Regions from separate parts of the Homo sapiens genome. Here all the other regions are linked to region 1. The links are contacts of gene promoters, found by promoter capture Hi-C in blood cells and fetal thymus (Javierre and others, 2016). All regions are on one chromosome and are shown on one strand. Each heading gives the region's core, a stretch centred on a gene start or on the middle of the fragment in contact. The rest is flanking DNA. Distances are from core to core; before and after follow the strand shown. Region 1 holds the start of ZKSCAN2 (zinc finger with KRAB and SCAN domains 2). Region 2 holds the start of IL4R (interleukin 4 receptor). Region 3 has its middle 32 kb from the start of IL21R. Region 4 overlaps USP31 (ubiquitin specific peptidase 31). Region 5 holds the start of GTF3C1 (general transcription factor IIIC subunit 1).

What was found. The method cuts DNA at HindIII sites, captures the fragments that hold promoters and counts their contacts. A CHiCAGO score of 5 or more calls a contact.
Region 2: a contact is called between the fragment with the promoter of IL4R here and the fragment with the promoter of ZKSCAN2 in region 1, in 1 of 17 cell types (endothelial precursors). The highest score is 7.1, in endothelial precursors.
Region 3: a fragment that was not itself captured here is called in contact with the fragment with the promoter of ZKSCAN2 in region 1 in 1 of 17 cell types (total B cells); the score reaches 5.9 in total B cells.
Region 4: a fragment that was not itself captured here is called in contact with the fragment with the promoter of ZKSCAN2 in region 1 in 1 of 17 cell types (naive CD8 T cells); the score reaches 5.3 in naive CD8 T cells.
Region 5: a fragment that was not itself captured here is called in contact with the fragment with the promoter of ZKSCAN2 in region 1 in 2 of 17 cell types (naive CD8 T cells and total B cells); the score reaches 6.6 in naive CD8 T cells.

What each region holds. Positions count from the first base shown.
Region 1 is chr16:25,255,735-25,259,636 of GRCh38, forward strand. ZKSCAN2 (zinc finger with KRAB and SCAN domains 2) reads right to left here and starts at 2,111. Exons shown (of 7, transcript NM_001012981.5): 1 at 995-2,111. The coding sequence starts at 1,393. It overlaps ZKSCAN2-DT (ZKSCAN2 divergent transcript), which reads left to right and starts at 1,843. Exons shown (of 1, transcript NR_170220.1): 1 at 1,843-3,902. RefSeq lists enhancers at 1,477-2,037, 2,453-2,772, 2,893-2,972 and silencers at 1,723-1,962, 2,043-2,242. The HindIII fragment of the contact is 3,031 bases long and covers 1,208-3,902 here.
Region 2 is chr16:27,312,544-27,316,553 of GRCh38, forward strand. IL4R (interleukin 4 receptor) reads left to right here and starts at 1,431. Exons shown (of 11, transcript NM_000418.4): 1 at 1,431-1,477. RefSeq lists an enhancer at 644-1,374 and silencers at 1,152-1,451, 1,472-1,681, 2,122-2,171. The HindIII fragment of the contact is 16,225 bases long and covers 1-4,010 here.
Region 3 is chr16:27,368,477-27,372,129 of GRCh38, forward strand. No RefSeq gene overlaps it. Among named protein-coding and RNA genes, the nearest start is that of IL21R, 32 kb to the right of the region's middle. RefSeq lists a silencer at 1,338-1,538. The HindIII fragment of the contact is 4,499 bases long and covers 1-3,653 here.
Region 4 is chr16:23,142,319-23,145,991 of GRCh38, forward strand. All of the region lies in intron 1 of USP31 (ubiquitin specific peptidase 31), which reads right to left. Among named protein-coding and RNA genes, the nearest start is that of USP31, 5.3 kb to the right of the region's middle. The HindIII fragment of the contact is 4,574 bases long and covers 1-3,673 here.
Region 5 is chr16:27,546,690-27,550,643 of GRCh38, forward strand. GTF3C1 (general transcription factor IIIC subunit 1) reads right to left here and starts at 3,224. Exons shown (of 37, transcript NM_001520.4): 1 at 2,981-3,224. The coding sequence starts at 3,201. KATNIP (katanin interacting protein) reads left to right here and starts at 3,455. Exons shown (of 28, transcript NM_015202.5): 1 at 3,455-3,488. The coding sequence starts at 3,482. RefSeq lists enhancers at 3,121-3,200, 3,211-3,320. The HindIII fragment of the contact is 1,169 bases long and covers 981-2,149 here.

The sequences.
Region 1 (3,902 bases), core at 861-3,360:
ACACAACCGGCTAATTTTATATTTTTTTAGTAGAGATGGGGTTTCATTATGTTGGTCAGGCTGGTCTCGAATTCCTGACCTCAGGTGATCAACATGCCTCGGCCTCCCAAAGTGCTGGGATTACAGATGTGAGCCACCGCGCCTGGCCAGAATAATATTTAATACTAAACAGAGAAGGAAATCTGTCAGGAGTGAAAGAGCCTCCTTGTTGCTAGAATAGATATTATTTGACTCTATATCTGTTACGTTCGCAAAGAAGTTACCAGGACATGAATATATACAGTAGTGAAATGAAAACTTACAAAATTAATATCCACATCTATCTGTCTATCCCTGACCAATACAGCAACCTGCTGATAGATCTCTACACAATGCAAGTCTGATGCAAGGTGAAACCGCAAATCTTGCAAATGCTGCAGGATTTCACGAGGTTCATGAAAGTGAGGTTGAAGAACAACTAGAAGAGCATGCAAGCCACTGAGAAATGAAGATGTGGCAGTTAGACTGGAGGAGAGTGACAGAAATGAAGGCATGAGAGCACTTCAGAAGACACTGAGTGCAACAGTAAAACGCTTGGAGACGGCTCTGGGATAACGGATGAAGTCTTTTTTTTTTTTTTTTAAAGGGGGAACAGAATAGCCTTTTTTGATCAAAATGCGTAAGTGAACCTCTGTGACGCAAAACCATATTGTTCTCTTATATTGTTTTGTTGCAAACATTATGCCAAAGATGACGATAAATGCTTAGGTGAATAATGTCTGGTTTCCATTGTAAGATAATATTTCAATCAAAGCTTTTATTTTTCTATTTCATGTGAAATTCTGATCCCCTTTTAAGTGGATTCACTTAAAGTGAAAAGACCCCCTTATAGGGTCTTTTATTAGTACCATTTATCTTTCTCTGAAGAGCACGTCTTTCTGCAATACATCCCTGCCCACATGCCTTTCCCATTCCCTTTTTTCTAAGTACAAAAATTTGGAAAATCCTCTCTCACCTGCTGTCTTAGTCTTCCAGTCTCTTTCTCCAAATGCACTACCAGGGCCACCGCTTCCTCTCCACTTTGCGGACACTGCTTCTGTGCCCAAGCCTGAATCTTCTCGGGTAAAATGGTGAGAAACTGCTCAATCACCAGCAGCTCAAGTATTTGCTCCTTGGAACGCATTTCTGGCTTCAGCCACCGGCAGCAAAGTTCCCAGAGTTTACTGAAAGCTTCATGGGGTCCAGTCACATCCTCATAACAGAATTGCCTGAAGCATTTGCGGAAGGTCTCAGAGCTATCCGATCCTTCCAGAATGGGCTCTGATGCCCACTCAGGGTCCTTTTCCACCTTCATTATTAGGCATCCCTCAACCTCCAGGGGCGCGTCGATCTGAGAGTCGAGGGCGACAGCCATGCTGCAGCCCAGGGGTCAACTTCACGTCTAGCTCAAGGTGGGGACCCAAAGAAGACTCCAAGCGCTCCCTGCTTAATGTTCCTGGGAGTGTGATAAGGTACGGAGGTAAAAACGGCCAGGTCGGCAGGAACAGGGTATTCCAGGCTGATTAATCAAATCTATGCCAGGCCCTTGAAAAGGTGAACGTATACTCTAAGATGCAAAAGCCTGGCCTCTTCTCCAAACAAGATGTGACCGCGCAATGTGGTTTTCCAGAGTGCATCCCTCTTAGTGCAAAGTCGGAAACCGGGAGGCTGGACGACTGGGAGAAAAATGAAGCAGGCTGAGGAAAGGCTGGGCGGAGGCGGACAGCCGGGCCGGGAGGGGGTGTGTCCGCTACTCCCGGGTCGGGCGCGGAGAGGCGAGTCCCCGAGTGGGTGGGGCCGGATGTGCAGGCCCCGCCCGGCGCCAGGTTCCGGGCTCGGGTCACCGCAGCACGTCCAGGCCGCCGCGGGTGCCGCTGGGGCCGCCGGATTCCGAGAGCGGCGCCGGGCTCTTTCGGGCCCACGACGGCCCCGACCGTCCTGAGGAAACCGCTGCCGCCGAGGAAAGGCCGCAAAAACTGTTCCGCCCGGAAGGGAGAAGAGCTGCGGGGCGAAGCCAGGGCTCGCAGGGGGCAGCGGCAGGCTGCTCGCGTTCGGCCTCGTCCACTCGGCCCGCGGAGAGCGCGGGGGGCGCTGGGAACCGCAGTCACGCATGCGCCGCCTGCCACCGAGCGCCGCGGGGCCCGCGCGAGGCGTCCTGGCGGGCGAGGGGCTGGGGGAGGGGGGGGGGGCCGTGCGGTGGACTCTCGCGAGAGCGCGCGGCGCGGTGACTCGTCGCTGAGGGACTTTAAGATTGTAGAGGGGCGCGGAGGGTCCTCCCCGGGGCGGAGGGACACAGAGGGATTCTAGGGAACCTGCCGTCGCGAGTCCCGCTTCAGGCGGAGAATCTAGGCGGCGGCGGGGCCTCCCTGAGGCGGAGGAGTCGGCACCGGGGCCTGGCTGCCGGGGAAGGAGAGCACGGGAGCGGGGACTCCTGTGTCTGGCGGAGGGACACGGCGTTCCGGTGGAGGGATCTGTTCCTTGTACCTGGTCCAGGGTTGCGGTCGGGGATGGAGCGGTTACCCCGACCCTGCGGGACCTTCTTCCTCTGGCGGAGGTGCACGGCGCGGCGTGGTGTTTTTCTGGCGGAAGTATCTGTGCGTGGCCCCAGGCCCTTCCCGGCGCGGTCTCATCTGGGGCCACTTGTTGGCCCTCGCGTTGGGGAGGTTCATGTGGTGCATCCTGATGAGAAGGGGGGTCACAGGGGTCTCGGGGCCAGGGTTCAGCCAGCCAGGCCCCAGCTTGCTCTCTTCTGGTGCTGCCCCTGTCCCTGAATTCATAGACCCGGCTTTCCCTCTCTTGAGCACCTACTATGTGCCAGGCTGCGCTTTGCGCATGTAGCAGAGGCAACAGTGTCACCTGGGAAGCTGGTTTCCCCCAAAGGAACTCTTGTCTGTCCGTTGTTGCAGAGCCAGCGCATGAGACCAAGTGTGAGTATCAGGCAGTGCAGCCTTCATTCAGTGGCCATGGAATTGGAGAAGTGGGAGGGTAGCTCGCAAATCAAGCTCTCAGCTCTTGGAAACTGAGAAGTTACAGGTAATAGGGAGTGTTGACGAAAAGTAAAACCGTGCAAAATATTTGAAGAGATTTATTGTGAGCCAAATACGAGTAACCACAGCCTGTGATACAGCCCTCTCGAGGCCCTGAGAACATGTGCCCAAGGTGGTCGGGGTGCAGCTTGGTTTTATGTTTTAGGTTGGCATGAGACATCAGTCAAATACATTAAATACATTGGTTTGGTCCAGGAAGGCGGGACAACGCAAAGGGGTGGGGGTGGGGGCTTCCAGGCTATAGGTAAATTTAAATATTTTCTAGTTGACAATTGGTTGAGTTTGTCTGAAGACCTGGGATTGATAGAAAGGAAGTGTTCAGGTTAAGATAAAAGATAGTGGAGACTAAGGTTCTTTTGAAGTCTTATGGTGGCTGCTCTTAGAGATAATAGATGACAAATGTTTCCTATTCAGATCTTCAAAAGGTGTTAGACTTTTAGTTAATCCGTTTAGGATTGGGAGGGCCTGGAAGAAAAACATCTAGCTATGTTAATAGATGTTCTTTACAGATGCACATTTTACCCCACAAAGGATAGCTTTTGGGGGAAAATGCTGTCCTTTATGGAAGAAATTGCAAAATAGGGCAAGGAAACATGTTTTGGGGTAAAATATTTTGACTTTCTTTTTGTCACGTAATGTTATGCCAGAGTCAGAATGGAAAGTAAGTCATCATATATAGGATTAAATAAAACCCATCTGATGAGAATTTATGGTTTGTAGGTCATGACTCCCCAGATCCCTTAGATAGGAATTTGGGCAGGATTAAAAAAATCAAGAGTTTAGGCTGGTCGTGGTGGCTCACGCCTATAATCCCAGCATTTTGGGAGGCCAAGGCAG
Region 2 (4,010 bases), core at 181-2,680, 2.1 Mb after region 1:
GAATGATTGACGTGCAGTGGCCCCTGCCCTGGGAAGCCAACCCTCACCCTCCACCACAGCACTTGATCCCATTGGGCAGTCCTTGGCTTCCACCCTCAAACTGAGAGCTCCTTGAGGGCAGCAGGGGGTCAAATTACTCTCTGGGTTCTCAGCACTGCCCAGTGTGAGTCCAAATATCTCCCACCTCCCCTGTCTCCGCTCTTTCCTCACTCAGGGCTCCACAGCCATGCCGGCCTTCAGCAATTCCTCCTGCAGGCTGAGCTGGTTCCCACAGGGCCTTTGCACTAGCTCTTCCCTCTCCCTACACAAGTCTTCCCCCATAGGCTCTTCAGAGTCTCAGCTCAAATGGCCTCTACTCAAAAAGCCTCTTCCAGACCACCTGCCCCACTGGTCTAAGAGGTCCCTACTTTCTTCTTGGGCCCTCCTGACCTGAAATACTTTGTTGAGTGTTTTCCCCCCAGTCATCTGGCTGCATCCGGGTTCTTATGGTGTCCAGACGTTAATGGTCTATGGGGCCTGTGTTCGAATCCCAGCTCCACCCCTGCTCCTGCTTACCTGCAGAGTGATTCTGAGTTTCTTTCTTTTCTTTTTTAAAATTTTATAAATGTCAATTTTTGTAGATAGGGGTCTCGCTAACAGGGTTGCCCAGGCTGGTCTCGAACTATGGGGTTCAAGTGATCCTCCCGCCTCAGCTTCCCAAAGTGCTGGGATTACAGGCATGAGCCACTTTGCCCAACCCATTTTGAATTTCTTAAGGACTCTGTGCCTCAGTTTCCTGATTTGTAAAACCGGTGATAGTATCACTCCCTTATAGGGTAGTTGCCAGGATTGAACGAGTTAACATTTGCAGTGCCCGACAGATTGTACTAGTTACTGATTGAAGGGCTGTTTTACTATCCAAATGTGGCTGGAGTAGGAGTTGGGTAAACATTTATTGAAGAATGTGCAACCACTCTCACTTGGAAGCCGGGCTGTTAGGAAGGGGAGGAGGATTCCAGTCGCCCAGCCCTCCCCCACCAAACGCAACTGCCCCGGCGCAAAAGAGGCCGCGGAGGCCAGGCAGGAGCAGGTCCTGGAGGCCTGGTCGGCGTGGGCGTTTTATTCCGAGACCAAGGGGATCCACTGCAGAGTTCTCCGCTGGGCGTGACCTCGGGCTACGGCGTGGGAGGAAGCGCGCGGCAAGACACCCAGCGAGGTGCTGGGGTCGCCCCCAGGAGAGGACGGCGGCTCGGACTGTCCGGCGGCGGCGGCGGGGACAGCGACAGGGGCGCGAGGTGGCCGGGACCCGGGCCGGGCGCGCCGGGCGGGGCGGCGCATGCAAATCTGCCGGGCGCCGGGGCGGGGAGCAGGAAGCCGGGGCGGGCTGGGTCTCCGCGCCCAGGAAAGCCCCGCGCGGCGCGGGCCAGGGAAGGGCCACCCAGGGGTCCCCCACTTCCCGCTTGGGCGCCCGGACGGCGAATGGAGCAGGGGCGCGCAGGTAGGATCCGGGGCCCGCGCGCGGATCGGGTTGCGAAGGTATCGCCCGGGCACGCCGGCTGAGGGCGTTCGGGAAGGGCTCGGCCGCCGGCGGGGACCACGGGGACCACCCCGACTCCGAGCGGGGCCCGAGCCCGCGACTCTCGGTGCGCGCGGAGCAGCGCCCGGTTCCGTCCTTGCCGCCGAACGGCAGCGGAGGCGCGAGGCCCGGGGTACGTGGACACCCAGCGCTCCCCAAAGCCGGTGCTGGCAGTGAGACCTCCGCCGGGACGGCCTGCGGGGGTGGGGGGCTTGGGGTTAGGCTGTCGGAGGCCACGCAGCCCCTCTTCTCCGGGCAGTGGCGCCCAGCCCTGCGCTCAGGAAGTCAGTGAGGACTTCGGAGAGAGAAAGGGTGGGGAAAGTTCTGAGAACTGTAAATTTGAGTAGTAGGTCAGTGAATCGGGGCGGTCTCCGCCTCCGAATATCAGATGGACCCAATAATCGCGATCATTGACTGGGACTTGTTTTACTGAAAGGATGCCAAGTGAAACCTCCCACTAACTTCTCTGTGGCCGGTGCTGTGCGTCATGGACATTGTACAGATGAGGTCACCAAGACCCCAGCCGCTTTAGTAACTTGCCCTAAGGTGCCGCCCACTTGGGAGTCCGTGGGGCAGCAGGACTAGAGCCCAGGCAATCCCACGCCAGAGCCAGCTGCTCTCCATCTCTCAATCACGTTTGAGGAGCCCCCACAATAACCAGAATCTCCGGGAGATTTGCTTAAAATGCAGATTCCCAGGTCCTTGCCCTGAGATTCAGATTCAGTAAACCCAGGAATCTGATCTTTATTTTATTTTTAAAAATTTATTTTATAAAGATGGTGTCTCACTATGTTGTCCAGGCTGGCCTCAAGTGATCCTCCCACCTCGGCCTCCCAAAATGCTGGGATGACAGGTGTGAGCCACTGAGCCCTGATTTTTTTTTTAAACAAAATCTGGATTTCTTAGACTTAAGCAAGATAGGGGACCACTAGTTTGTCTGCTTCTGGGGTTCAAGGAATGCCCCCAGGCCAGCGCTAACCCTGCTCCAGTTCTAGTCTCTCCCCTTCCCCAGCCCTCTGGGAGGCATGACCCACTGCACTTCCCTGCCCCCAGTAGCCTATGAGGAGCCCAAGGCATTTGCTGGGACCTCAGTGCCTTTATCAAAATCCCAAAGTCCAATGGGGAAACAGGCTCAGGTGTAGGTTTGGCCAGGGTGTCCTGCACATTAGGGCATTCCAGGGTCCTGCAGGGGTTTCTTAGAACTCGGCTAGCCCAGCCCATGAATGGGAGGTGACCTGCTAAGCCACTCATTCACTCACTAGCACTCATTCAGCTCCTGCGAGGCCCTGGGTGGTGTTCTGGGCACTGGTGCTTGCCTCAAGGAGCACCCCCTCTGCAGGAAGACAGACGTGAGGGCTGGGAGGGTGCGGATGCACCAGCGGCTGCAGGACCACAAGCCAGAGGGGATCAGCTCTTCAAAGGTCACTGGGCCAGGCTTCCCAGCACCCAGGGACCCTGAGCTAGCCTTGTGAGTAGAGCAGGGGAGTCTGGCAGGTAGAGGATGGGAGGTAAAGGGAGGCACAGAGTGGGCGGAGGCTGGGAAGTGTGAAAGGGCACTGTGTACAGAACCTAGGGAGTAAGCAGAAGCCAGAGATGGATGGAAAGTTGGGCTGGGCTGCATTGTGGAAAGCCTTGAATGCCATGCCAAGGAACTTGGGCCAGTGTATTCACCTTGGCTTGAGTTGTAAAAGCAACAATGCAGATTCCTGGGCCCCACCCTGGGCCTCTGGATCTGAATCTGGAGGGAGACGCTGGGGAGGCAGCAGGGAGGAAAACCTGCAGTCACTCACCCCATTTACAACACATGCAGTTACCGGCAGGTCCGAGATAACCTAAGGGTTTCCAAATGCTAGGAAGTGACTCAATGACTGATATGTTTAATACAATACAATCCCGGTTGCAAAATGCCCAGGGCAAGGGTGGGGGTGTTCAGTTTTCTAATGCTCCCAGTTCAAAAAGGAGCTGAAATGAATTGTCAAAGAAGTGACAAGCTGGGCGCAGTGACTCACACCTGTAATCCCAGCACTTTGGGAGGCTGAGAGAGGATCGCTTGAACCCAGGAGTTTGAGACCAGCCTGGGCAACATAGTGAGATCCTGTTCCTACAAAAAAAATTTAAAAACTTAGCCAGGCGTGGTAGCAGGTGCCTCTAGCCCCAGCTATTTGGGAGGCTGAGGTGGGAGGATGGCTTGAGCCCAGGTGGTCAAGGCTGCAGTGAACTATGATTGTGCCACTGCACTGTAGCCTGGGTGACAGAGCGAGACTCTGTCTCAAAATAAACAAATACATAAATACATGAGAAGAGAGAACCTTTTCTACCTCCCCCATCTCCCTGCCCTCTTCCACCCACCCCATCTGGGACGATGGAGGAGAGCGTTTGGGATTAGATGCCCCACCTCTCGACTGCCCTCACTGGTACCTGGGAGTGAGGCCAGGACAGAAGCCGCCTAAGTACT
Region 3 (3,653 bases), core at 685-3,184, 2.1 Mb after region 1:
TAATGTCCATTAGATATGCTGTGTGGCGCCAGGCCAGCGTGTAACCTCTCTGTGCTTGATTCGTTATCTGTAAAATGGGAATCATTATAATATCTGCCTCATGTAGCTATTGTGAGAATTAAATATGTTAGTACCTGTGAGGTCCTTAGAACTATGCCTGCGGCTGGGCACAGTGGCTCACGCCTGTAATCCCAGCACTATGGGAGGCCAAGGTGGGCAGATTGCCTGAGGTAGGCGTTTGAGACCAGCCTGGCCAACATGGTGAAACCCTGTCTCTATTAAAAATACAAAAATCAGCCAGACATGGTGGCGGGTGCCTGTAATCCCAGCTACTCGGGAGGATGAGGCAGGAGAATTGCCTGAACCCAGGAGGCAGAGGTTGCAGCAAGCGGAGATTGTGCCACTGCACTCCAGCCTGGGCAACAAGTGGGACTCTGTCTCAAAAAAAAAGAACTATGCCTGCAAATAGTTAATGCCTTAAAAGTATTTGCTAACATTCTTCTTCTTCTTCTTTTTTTTTTTTTTTTGAGACAGGGTCTTTCTCTGTCACCCAGGCTGGAGCGCAGTGGCCCAATCCCGGCTCACTGCAGCCTTGAACACCTGGGCTCATGTGATTCTCCCACTTCAGCCTCTCAAGTAGCTGTGACCACAGGTGCACACACCACTAAGCCTGGCTAATTTGTTTTTTAATTTTTTGTAGAGACAGGGAATCACTATGTTGCCTAGGCTAGTCCCAGACTCCTAGGGTTCAAGCAATCCATCCACCTCGGCCTCCCAAAGTGCTAGGATTACAGATGTGAGCCACCATGCCTAGTCTGCTAACATTATCCTTAATATTACACTGAATATGTCTGTGGATTTTGTGGGAGGTGAGGGTATAAAACATAATTAGAGGAAATAATGACATTCTAAATTTAATTTGACTTTATTACAAAAAGGGCAGAATGGAGCAACAGTAATCCAGGACAAAAAATTGTCCCAATCCCATCATTCAACCCACTTGTGTTTGTATCTGTTTGTGCCACTTCTGTGTGTTGTTTACATGCAGAGTCAGTGTTTGCGTATTTGCGGTTTTATATCATTCATTTCTCATCATACATACATATATTTATATTCCTGACATTTTTCTAGGGAATATCTTTATATTCCTGACATTTTTCTCTTTTTCCCTTATGTTCTTCCATACCGGGACTTATAGGACCTTGCCCAGACTCAACTTCCCTCTTCCCCATGGACCCAAGTTGCTGAGCTTCCAACAGGTGTTTACAGCAAAGGAGAATGAGACAGAGAGAAGCAGAGATGCAGAGAGAAAGACAGACAGAGAAGACTAAACTGATTGATCCCAACTCCATTATGATATCTGACTCCAACCACAGAATGACCCTGATCCAGCCACAGACTGACTTCTGATCCTGGCCACAGTCCACCTCCTGTCCTCAGCCACAGAACAGCTCTGACTCAAGCCAGGAACTGAGTCCCGACCCATGTTACTGACTTACTCATGATCCTGGTTGCAGGCTGGCCCCAGCCACATGCTGACCCCTGACCCTCACCACAGATGGATCTTTGATCCCAGCTATAGGCTGATCTCTGATTCTGGCTGCCCTGAACCACCACTCCTATATACTGATGACCCACCTTAGCGTGATCCCACCCAGGAACTGGCATTTCCTGGGACAGGCTCTTGGCCACCTGCTGCTCTGCCCTGGGCACACCAGGCCCTACGCATCCTCCCCCTTCCACCACCATCCATGATTTCCTGATTTCTAGCAGCAAATTTAGCTTGAGTTGGTCAACATAGCTGGGCTGCCTGACCTTCCTCTCTGCCATGGAACCACAGAGCAAGTCAGCAGTTCTCCTTCCTAATCAAAAAGCAGCATGGAGGAGAAGGCTCCTTTGCCACCTTCCTTTCTGCTTTGGATGGTGCTTTTGCAATCATGAGGAGACAAGCCTGGAGATGAAAGGAGGCATTCTGAATATGGTGGAGTGGAAGAAGAAGAAGGCCTGCCTGGGGCTTTGATTACATCACCAAGTGATCAAACCAACCTTAAATTCTTAAATAAACTGTAAGTGTGCTTTTCTTTAAACCACTGTGAGTTTTCTTTTGCAGTCATAAAGCAACCTTAAAAATTGTAGTAGGTACAATAATGAACCCCCCAAGATGTCCATGTCCCAATCCCTGGAACCTGTGAACATGTTACATTACATGGCAAGGGGGGGATTAAGGTTACAGATGGAAGCAGGGTTGCTAATCAACTGAACCTGAGATGTAGAGGGAGATTATCCTTAATTATCCAGACAGGCCCAATATAATCCCAAGGATCTTCATAAGTGAGAGATGCAGGAGAAGCCAAGTCAGAGAGAGATTTCAAAATATTATGCTGCTGGCTTTGAAGATGGAGGGAAGGGCCATGGGCTAAGGAATGCAGGTGACCACTTGAAACTGGAAAAGTCAAGGAACAGACTTCCCTAGAGTTTCTGGAATGAACACAGCCTTGTTAACACCCTGATTTTGAGCTCAGTGAGACCAGTTTCAGACTTCTGACCTCTGGAATTGCAAGATCATAAATTTCAGTTTTAGGCCACTAAACTTGTGGAAATTTGTCAGAGAAGCAATGGGAAATGAACGTGCAGGTGCATTCACGCATCCAACTTTAGGCTCTGGACTCTTCCTCAAGCTCCTTCCCCAATCCCCATCCTCTCCCTCTTTATTGGCACTCAATCTTCACTTCCAGAGGATCCTGCCAAATTCCTGCCCATTCCATATCGGCATCCACCCTTTCTTGTTAGAGTGGACGTAGGGCAGGCTGGCTCCACAGCTGTGCGCCAGGCAGCAGCCCGTACCCCCCTGCTCGGAGGACCCCTACTCTTCAGTGTCATGCTCTGAAGTCCCAGTTTTGAAATTCTTGGCCAGGCGCAGTGGCCCACACCTGTAATCCCAGCACTTTGGGAGGCCAAGGTGGGCGGATCACTCGAAGTCAAGAGTTTGAGACCAGCCTGGCCAATATGGTGAAACCCCGTCTCTACTAAAAATACAAAAATTAGCCAGGCATGGTGGTGCATGCCTGTAATCCCAGCTACTCAGGGAGGCTGAGGCAGGAGAATCACTTGAACCCGGGAGGTGGAGGTTGCAGTGAGCCAAGACTGTGCCACTGCACTCCAGCCTGAGCAACAGAGCGAGACTTTGTTTCAAAAAAAAATAAAAAAAGAAAAAGAAATTCTTAAAAATTTTATCTCTGAAGTTGTGTTTTATAGGGAGGTTTAATGGGACCAAGGAGCACCCATTGAGGGCTTGGAGCCTCAGCTCACACAGGGTCCCACCTCCTGCCTGCTTCCCTGGGACATCTGCCACCTGCCTGCTTCCCTGGTACAGGCTCCTGGCCACCTGCTGCTCTGTCCCCAGCACACCAGGCCCTACTCATCCTCCCCATTCCACCACCATCCATGACCATTGCTGCCTTCTGCCCTTGAAGGAGGCCTGGGCACAGGTGCAAAGGATCATCAAGGTCAGTAGCTCACCTCACGGGACCTTGGGGTGGAGCATGGTGACAGCCATTCCTACCCCAGAGGTATCTGCTGGGCAGCCAGAAGCCACAACTCAGCCCACTTCTAATCCAGGAACCAAGAGTGACCATCTTGATTTCTCAGCCCTT
Region 4 (3,673 bases), core at 974-3,473, 2.1 Mb before region 1:
TTTAAGAAAGACTTCCAAAAACACCTAAGCCTGAGGAGCAATGGCACAAACGTGAAGCTAGCTGCAGATGACCTTATTTTCACTCCAATTCAGCACCACAGTCTCAGAGGAAAAAATGTTACACGTTTCAGCACGTCCCCTCTGCCCATGTACGTGTTATGTTGAGACCTGTCGTTTCATTGCTTGTACTGATAAGGCCACCCAGGCCCAGGACCCAGTTTGTGCACCAGCAGTGCAGGGGTACACAGAGTTCACAGTCAGTGGAAGTCAGAATTCTGGTTCTGCTCCCTCAACCTCTAGCTAGTGGGTGAACTCAGTTCCCACATCCTGAAAGGCTAGGAACTACTCACACCACATCCAAGTCTGCTTCCAAGTCTAAAACTTCATGATTCTATCAACTTTCTCCCTCAGAGGTGTGGAGCTTTGCTAAAACTCAAGTGATGGCATTTGATGGACCAGAGAACTGACCAGGAAGGGATGTACTTTTTATTTTATACTCTGTCACAAAGCTAAATGTGACCTACACAATTTCATTTTTTCCAAGGGACACCCTGAAGTCAGTGTGCTTTGTGGAAAACACTGAAGTATCAGTATACTAAAGAGCTTGACACTAACAAGAAAAAAACTGTGTACCATGGGTTTGCAGCATAGCACCAGAACCCCCAGCATGAGTGCATGGAAAAGCAGGCTGGGAAACTCAGCAAGTGTGAGCCTCTGATTGCCAGGTTGTTCACCACTAGTCTCTTATACAAGTTTATTCCTTTTGTGACTTGAGAATTCTCACTAATAAATAAGCACCACAAGGCACCAAAGTTCAAGGAAAAAAAAATGGGAGAGAGAATTCTATTCATCAATTACCATTTGTTTCACTGCAAATCTGGAAGGAGTCCCCACAATTCTTTTATCAATAGATCACTCTGTGCTAGCTGTTCTTTGCCAGCACAATTTAAAAACTGCTGCCATAAAATTTATCTTTCTTGCTTGAAAGATGACCATCCATCTTTTTACTTGCTGCAAAACGGCTCTGAGCTCTAAAACTCAGAAAGCATTTGTAAGAATCTGGGGCACCCATGCTCCTATGAAAGCAATAAGCTGATTCCCTTTAAAATGGCATATTATGTATTCAAAGTGATTTATTTACTCTCACTATTTTACTAGGAAAGTGATGCAAGGGTCCTGCCAGTGAAGCCCAAGTTTTACCCTAGTGCTGCTGCAAACACATATACACACTCAGAGACAGAGAAGGAGAAAGAGAGAGGGAGAGGTTGGGGGGGGGGAGAGAGAGAGAAAGAGAGAGCGCGAGAGATAACAAGGTAACCATTTTAAAGGCTGGGGAAGTAAAAGGAAACTTGCGCTGAGTCTCCAAACTTTCCTCCAAACAGTTTCTCAGCCTCAGCACTACTGACACTTTGGGGTGAAAACCCTTTAGTAAGGGGGGCTGTCCTGCACATTGTGTGACATTTAGCAGCATCCCTGGAATCTACCACCACATGCCAGTAGCACCCTGATCCCAGCTGTGACAACCAAGTAGGGTTCCAGACATCGACAAATGTCCCAGGGGGTGGGGGCAGGGTGGGGTGAGGACAGGCAAAAGTGCCCGTGTTGAAAACCAGTGCTCTAAGAGTAGGAAACAAACAAACAAAAAATCTGTGTGAAAAGAGAAAGGATAAAGGTAATGGCTAGAGACATTTTTTACAGCATATCAAGGTTGAGCTAGTCAACTCATTTCATCCTGGGAAATGAAAACCCAACTTTAACAACCATCTAGCCCATCCAAAACCAAAAACCATCTACTTGGCAAGCTCCTAAAACTCAAATCAATGTGGTTAAAAAGGAAGAAAGAACTCTAATTGAAAAACTTACAAAGAAAAGCATTAGTAACTTAAAGTTTTAAGATAATAAAAGCACAAAGACATAGTAAGTGCTTTTCTAACCTCAAGGTAACTATCTCAAGATGGCAAATTGGTTTTATCTCCTCTGCCAACTTCAACTAGGTGGTGGTGGCTGCCTGGAGCCCTTCTAGAACTGAGCAGGATTCTAAGGCTGAATGTGAGCGATGTGAAAGTGAAGAATATCTGAATGAAATAACGATGTCCACCCCAAGCAGGCGAAGCACAGTGAGGTATGCCTCAGGTCCACCTTCTGGTGTTTACCTTTCTTTTTTTTTTTTCCTTTTTTTGAGGCAGAGTCTCACTCTGTCACCCAGGCTGGAGCGCAGTGACATGATCTCTGCTCACTGCAACCTCCACCTCCTGGGTTCAAGAGATTCTCGTGCCTCAGCCTCCCGAGTAGCTGGGATTACAGGTGTGTGCCACCACGCTCGGCTACTTTTTGTATTTTTTTAGTAGAGATGGGGTTTCACCATGTTGTCCAGGCTGGTCTGGAACTATTGGTCTCAAGTGATCCACCCACCTTGGCCTCCCAAAGTGCCGGGATTACAGACATGAGCCACTGCGTCCTGCCTTAGCATTCAACTTTCTTTATATTCAAAATAATACCCATCAAATTTAGCTAAAATAAAACCTTTTTTTAAAAAGTAATCAATTTGCCAGAGTTACCTAACCGGGGGAATAAAAAGGGGAAAAGAATCTAATTATATCACTTCCTTGCTTAAAAATCACCTCTGGATTTTCAACTTGCAGAGGATGAAATCCAAACCAGCATAGCTCACGAAGCCCTTCACAGTGAGTTTCCAACACTCTTCTCCCAGGCTTCCTGCACCCCCACTGCTCTCTATGGTGCAGCCAGCCACTAAATGTCTATTCCCCAAAACCACACGCCCTTTCATGCAACTCCACCACTTCCTTGCCCTGCAAATTTCTATTCATCTTTCAGAACACTGCTCAGGAGCCACCTTTTTGGTAATGCTTTCCTTGTTCCTTGATGCCTGCTATACACAGGATGGTCCTTGAGCCAAAAGCACTGGCATCACCAGGGAGCTTGTTAGAAATGCAGAATCTTGGGCACCGCTCCAGCTCTACCGAATCTCAATTTCCTTTGTAGCAAGATCCCCAGGTGAATTATGTGCACACTGACGCATGAGAAGCGCTGTCTCAGGGAACTTCCTAGATCCTACTCGACTCAGCTCTTCATAGCTCCCTGGGAGGTAAACCCCTCCTTTACTCATCTCCTCTGTGAAGACAGGAAAACCCAAATGCCCACCCTCCAGCCTCCGTGACAGCCAATTGACATGGTTATAGCCAATGAAATATCAGCAGAAGCCTGCTGAGGGGGCTTCTGGAAGAATTTTTATTTCCCTAATGACTTCCTGCCGTCCTGGGTAGAATGCCAGGTGCAGTGGCTGCCATCACTGGACAACCATGAGGTGACAAACCTAAGAACAAAAAGCCAATGATAGCTAAAAAGACAACAGGTGGAAATACAGAAATGGTCTGAATCCTTGTTGGGCCCAACGAGCCACTGAACCATAGAACCATCCACCTCCGGAATCACTGTGTGTGCCAATTGCCAATTGCAACGTTTTCATTGCTTAAGGCACTATCATTAGGGATTTTCCTTTCTTGGGCTGAAGGCATTCCTAACTGATTAAGTAAGCCTTCAATAAATGGGAGGTGAATGAATGAATGTAGAGTGAAACCTACTAAAGGTTCAGGAGATTACTTTTAAAAAGCCAGGCCTCTAAGAATCTGTTCATGTCTGCCAAAGCATGCCT
Region 5 (3,954 bases), core at 315-2,814, 2.3 Mb after region 1:
ATTGCGGCTAAATCCTATGTACATGTTTCAGCCCTTTCCTTCCTTGCCCCCTCTGTGTTATCTGCACCATTTAACCCTCCATTCCTTTTTTTTAAGACTTGAGTTTTGATCTTGTCACCCAGGCTGGAGTGCAGTGGCGCAATCTCGGCTCACTGCAACCTCTACCTTCTGGGTTCAAGCGATTCTCCTGCCTCAGCCTCCCTAGTAGCTGGGATCACAGGCACCTGCCACCACACCCAGCTAATTTTTGTATTTTTAGTAGAGAGAGGGTTTCACGATGTTGGCCAAATGATCCACCTGCCTCGGCCTCCCAAAGTGCTGGGATTACAGGCATGATTCACCACACCCAGCCCAACCCTCCGTTCTTAAATGATCCTGTCTCCTCCCAAACTTCCAGAACACCACTCTGACCTGACTGTCCTCTACCTCTCCAGCCACACCGCCTCAGTCTTCTTTTGAAAGTCCCTCACCCTCCATCCAGCCTTGAAATGTAGGTGCACTGCAGAGCTATATCTCAAGACCTCCAACCACACTACACTCTCTCTTAGGGCTGATCTTAGCCAGCTGCTTTAATTACCAGCTGCTAGGAATGACTCACAGATGTCTAGCTCAGTCCCTCCCTCTGGCCTGCTTTCACTCCCACGAAGCCAGATGTTTACTAATTAAGACTCTTCACTTGGACAACTCAAAAGAACCTGAAGCTAAATGTGTCACATGTCTCTTCAGCAAAGTCCCCACCTCCCCCAGACTCAACCCCCACGCTGTTCTTCCGTGTTCCCAGCCTCAGAGATGAGAATCAGGGTTCGCTCAGGTGCCCAAACAGCAGCCTACTATGTCTTGACTGCCTGTGCTCTTCATCCCCACGCCCACCATGGTAAGCCAGACCATGACTAGATTACTAAAAATCTCTCAACTTCACTCTTTGCCCCTAGTCTGACCCTCTCTTCAGTGACTTCTCACTGTCCTTTTGATAAAGGATAAGCTTTTTTTTTGAGATGGATTCTCCCTCTGTCACCCAGGCTGGAGTGCAGTGGCACAATCTCGGCTCACTGCAGCCTCCACCTAGCTGGGATTTCAGGCGTCTACCACCACGCCCAGCTAATTTTTGTATTTTTAGTAGACATGGGGTTTCACCATGTTGGCTGGACTGGTCTTGAACTCCTGACCTCAAGTTATCCGCCCACCTCTGCCTCTCAAAGTGCTGGGATTACAGGCTGATAAACTCTTTAAGTAGGTTAAAAGACTTGATTCCAGTCCAATTTGGCTGGAATCTGAACTCAGACCTTCCTCAAAGTCTGGGTTCTTCCCTTGCTAGTTGACTTTTAGCATGCCACTTGACCCCTCAGGGCCTCGATTTTCTCTTCAGGAAAATGGGGAGAATATTACCCATCTCCTAAGGTTTCTGTAAAAATTAAATAACATGTTGTATTAAGGATCTTAGCACAGTCCTAGCTATTCCTCATTCCCTACCTCCAATTCCACACTTCAGCCACTTACTTCACATTTGCTGTTCTCTGTCCAACAGTCCTCTTTGCCAACTGGCTGCCTAAATCCAACCTTTAAGTTTTGTCTCGAACATTATTTTATTTTATTTTTGAGACAGAGTCTCACTCTGTCACCCAGGCTGGAGTGCAATGGCTGAATCTCAGCTCACTGAAACCTCTGTCTCCCAGGTTCAAGTGATTCTCCTGCCTCAGCCTCCTGAGTAGCTGGGATACAGGCATGCGCCACCACGCCAGGCTAATTTTTGTATTTTTAGTAGAGATAGGGTTTCACCACGTTGGTCAGGCGGGTCTTGAACTGCCGACCTTGTGACCCATCCACCTCAGCCTCCCAAAGTACTGGGATTGCAGGCATGAGCTGCTGCACCCGGCCTGTCTTGGACATTATTACCTCTTGGAACCTCCCCTGACCCTCACAATATGGCTTAAGAGCACAGACGCTGAAAATAGCCTGGGTTCAAATCAATTCTTAGTCACTTATTGCCCCCAGAACCTTAGGTTACATAATCCCTCTCTGTGACTCAGTGTCTTCCTCTGTAAAATGAGGACGATAACAGCACCTACCTCATAGGTGAGGATCAAGTGAATTTAATCTCCTGTTTAACGGAGTTTAATCAAGTGAGGATCAAGTGAGTTTAAGCTCCTAAAGCTTCTAGAATAGATTCTTAGAACAGCAATGTGGCCGGGCGCCGTGGCTCACGCCTGTAATCACAGCACTTTGGGAGGCCGAGAGGTGCGGATTGTCTGAGGTCAGGAGTTCGCGACCAGCCTGGCCAACATGATGACACCCCATACCTACTAAAAATGCAAAAATTAGCCGGGCGTGGTGGAACATGCCTGTAATCCCAGTTACTCAGGAGGCTGAGGCACGAGAATCGCTTGAACCTGGGAGGCGGACGGAGGTTGCAGTGAGCCAAGATCGCGCCACTGCACTCCAGCCTGGGCCACAGAGAGAGACTCTATCTCAAAAAAGAAAAAAAAGAACAGCACCTCACCCATGAAGTCCCTGATAAATGTCAGCTTTTAGCATTATCGCTAATTGTCCTGATACGCAGATCTCGAGTTGCCCTAGGCTATCTGCACCGAATGAATATACCATGAGGGTCTGTTGATCTCAGGAGTCTCCAGTCTGGCTCTAAAGTGTCTTTCCTGCTCTAATCCTATCCTCCAATGTAAAGGAAACATTCTTTTAAGCCTGAAGAATATCCCCAATCCTGTTCGCCATTACCCCAAAACACACACAGGGACAAAACGGGACATCACTAGATTCTCCCCCTCCCCCCGCCAACTCCATCGGACTCCAGGGCCCTGCCAGGCCTGAGGGACCCCAGATTAGCCTTACCGCCGTGCCCCAACTCAATCAACAGGCCTCCGGTACTTGCACAGCCCCACTCCATTCCCCCGCCCTGCCCCCAGCTCCATCAGCCCCCGGGCCCTGCGCCCGCCCGCCCGCCCGCCAGGCCAGGCCGCCCGCTGACCGGTCCTGGAGCTGTAGGTCGGGTCGCTCCCGAGGCTCCTCATAGAAGCTGATGCCCGGGTGCGTGGCGAGGGCCCGCCAGAGAAACTCCTGCGTGCAGGGTTCCAAAGGCAGCGGGAAGGGCGGCACTCGCGTCTCCAGCCGGCTCCACAGCGCTGGCAGACACAGGCCATCGAGCCCCTCCAGAGCGACTTCGTCCAACAACGACTCCAGCGCGTCCATTGCTACTTCAGTCGGCGGCGCCCGGGGCGCATGCGCAACGCACCGCCAAGGGCCTTGGTCCATCGCGCCTGCGCACAACGATCCGGGGCCCGGGGAGGTGGGTCAGACCCAGGGTTCGGAGGAGGAGTTCCAGCGCGCCGGCATGACGTCACTCCCCGGGGGCGGGCTCAGTAAGTGGAGCTCCACCGTCATTGGTCCGGGGCCCCGCAGTAACCAGGGGAACTGCAAACAGTGTAGAGGCCGCTTCCGGTTCGAGCTCCCGGAACCGCCGCCTCTAGGGATGGACGGTGAGTGTCTGTGGGCCCCTCCGGGAGGTCGGGCTGTTATTCTCCCATCCCTCCCGACCGCGCTTTGGGCAGAATCCTAGGCCATGAACCCCTGGACCACCACTTCCTGACCCAAGGGGGTCTCCGAAATGAGGGATAGGGAGGCTTAGTGGTCTGGAACGCGGAGGAGAGCCTGGGGGAGTGGTCAGTGCTGTGACCATTCTGCTCGGCTGTGGTCGTGAAGGAAACCGGTACTGGCCGGGAGCTCAGTGAAGGGATGTAGGGTGGGGAAGGAGAAGTAGAGGTCTGAGGAGGGTCTTGTGAATGTTGGGATGTGGAACTGTCGGATTTGGGAGTTGATATGAAAACAAGCTTGATCGTGGGAGTGCAATCGTCAGGTGCTGGGAAAGGGAATTGGTGTGGGGGGTGAAGGGAGTTTAGGAAATACTCCCTTTCTGTGCCTTGGCGTTAATAATAATAGCTCCCT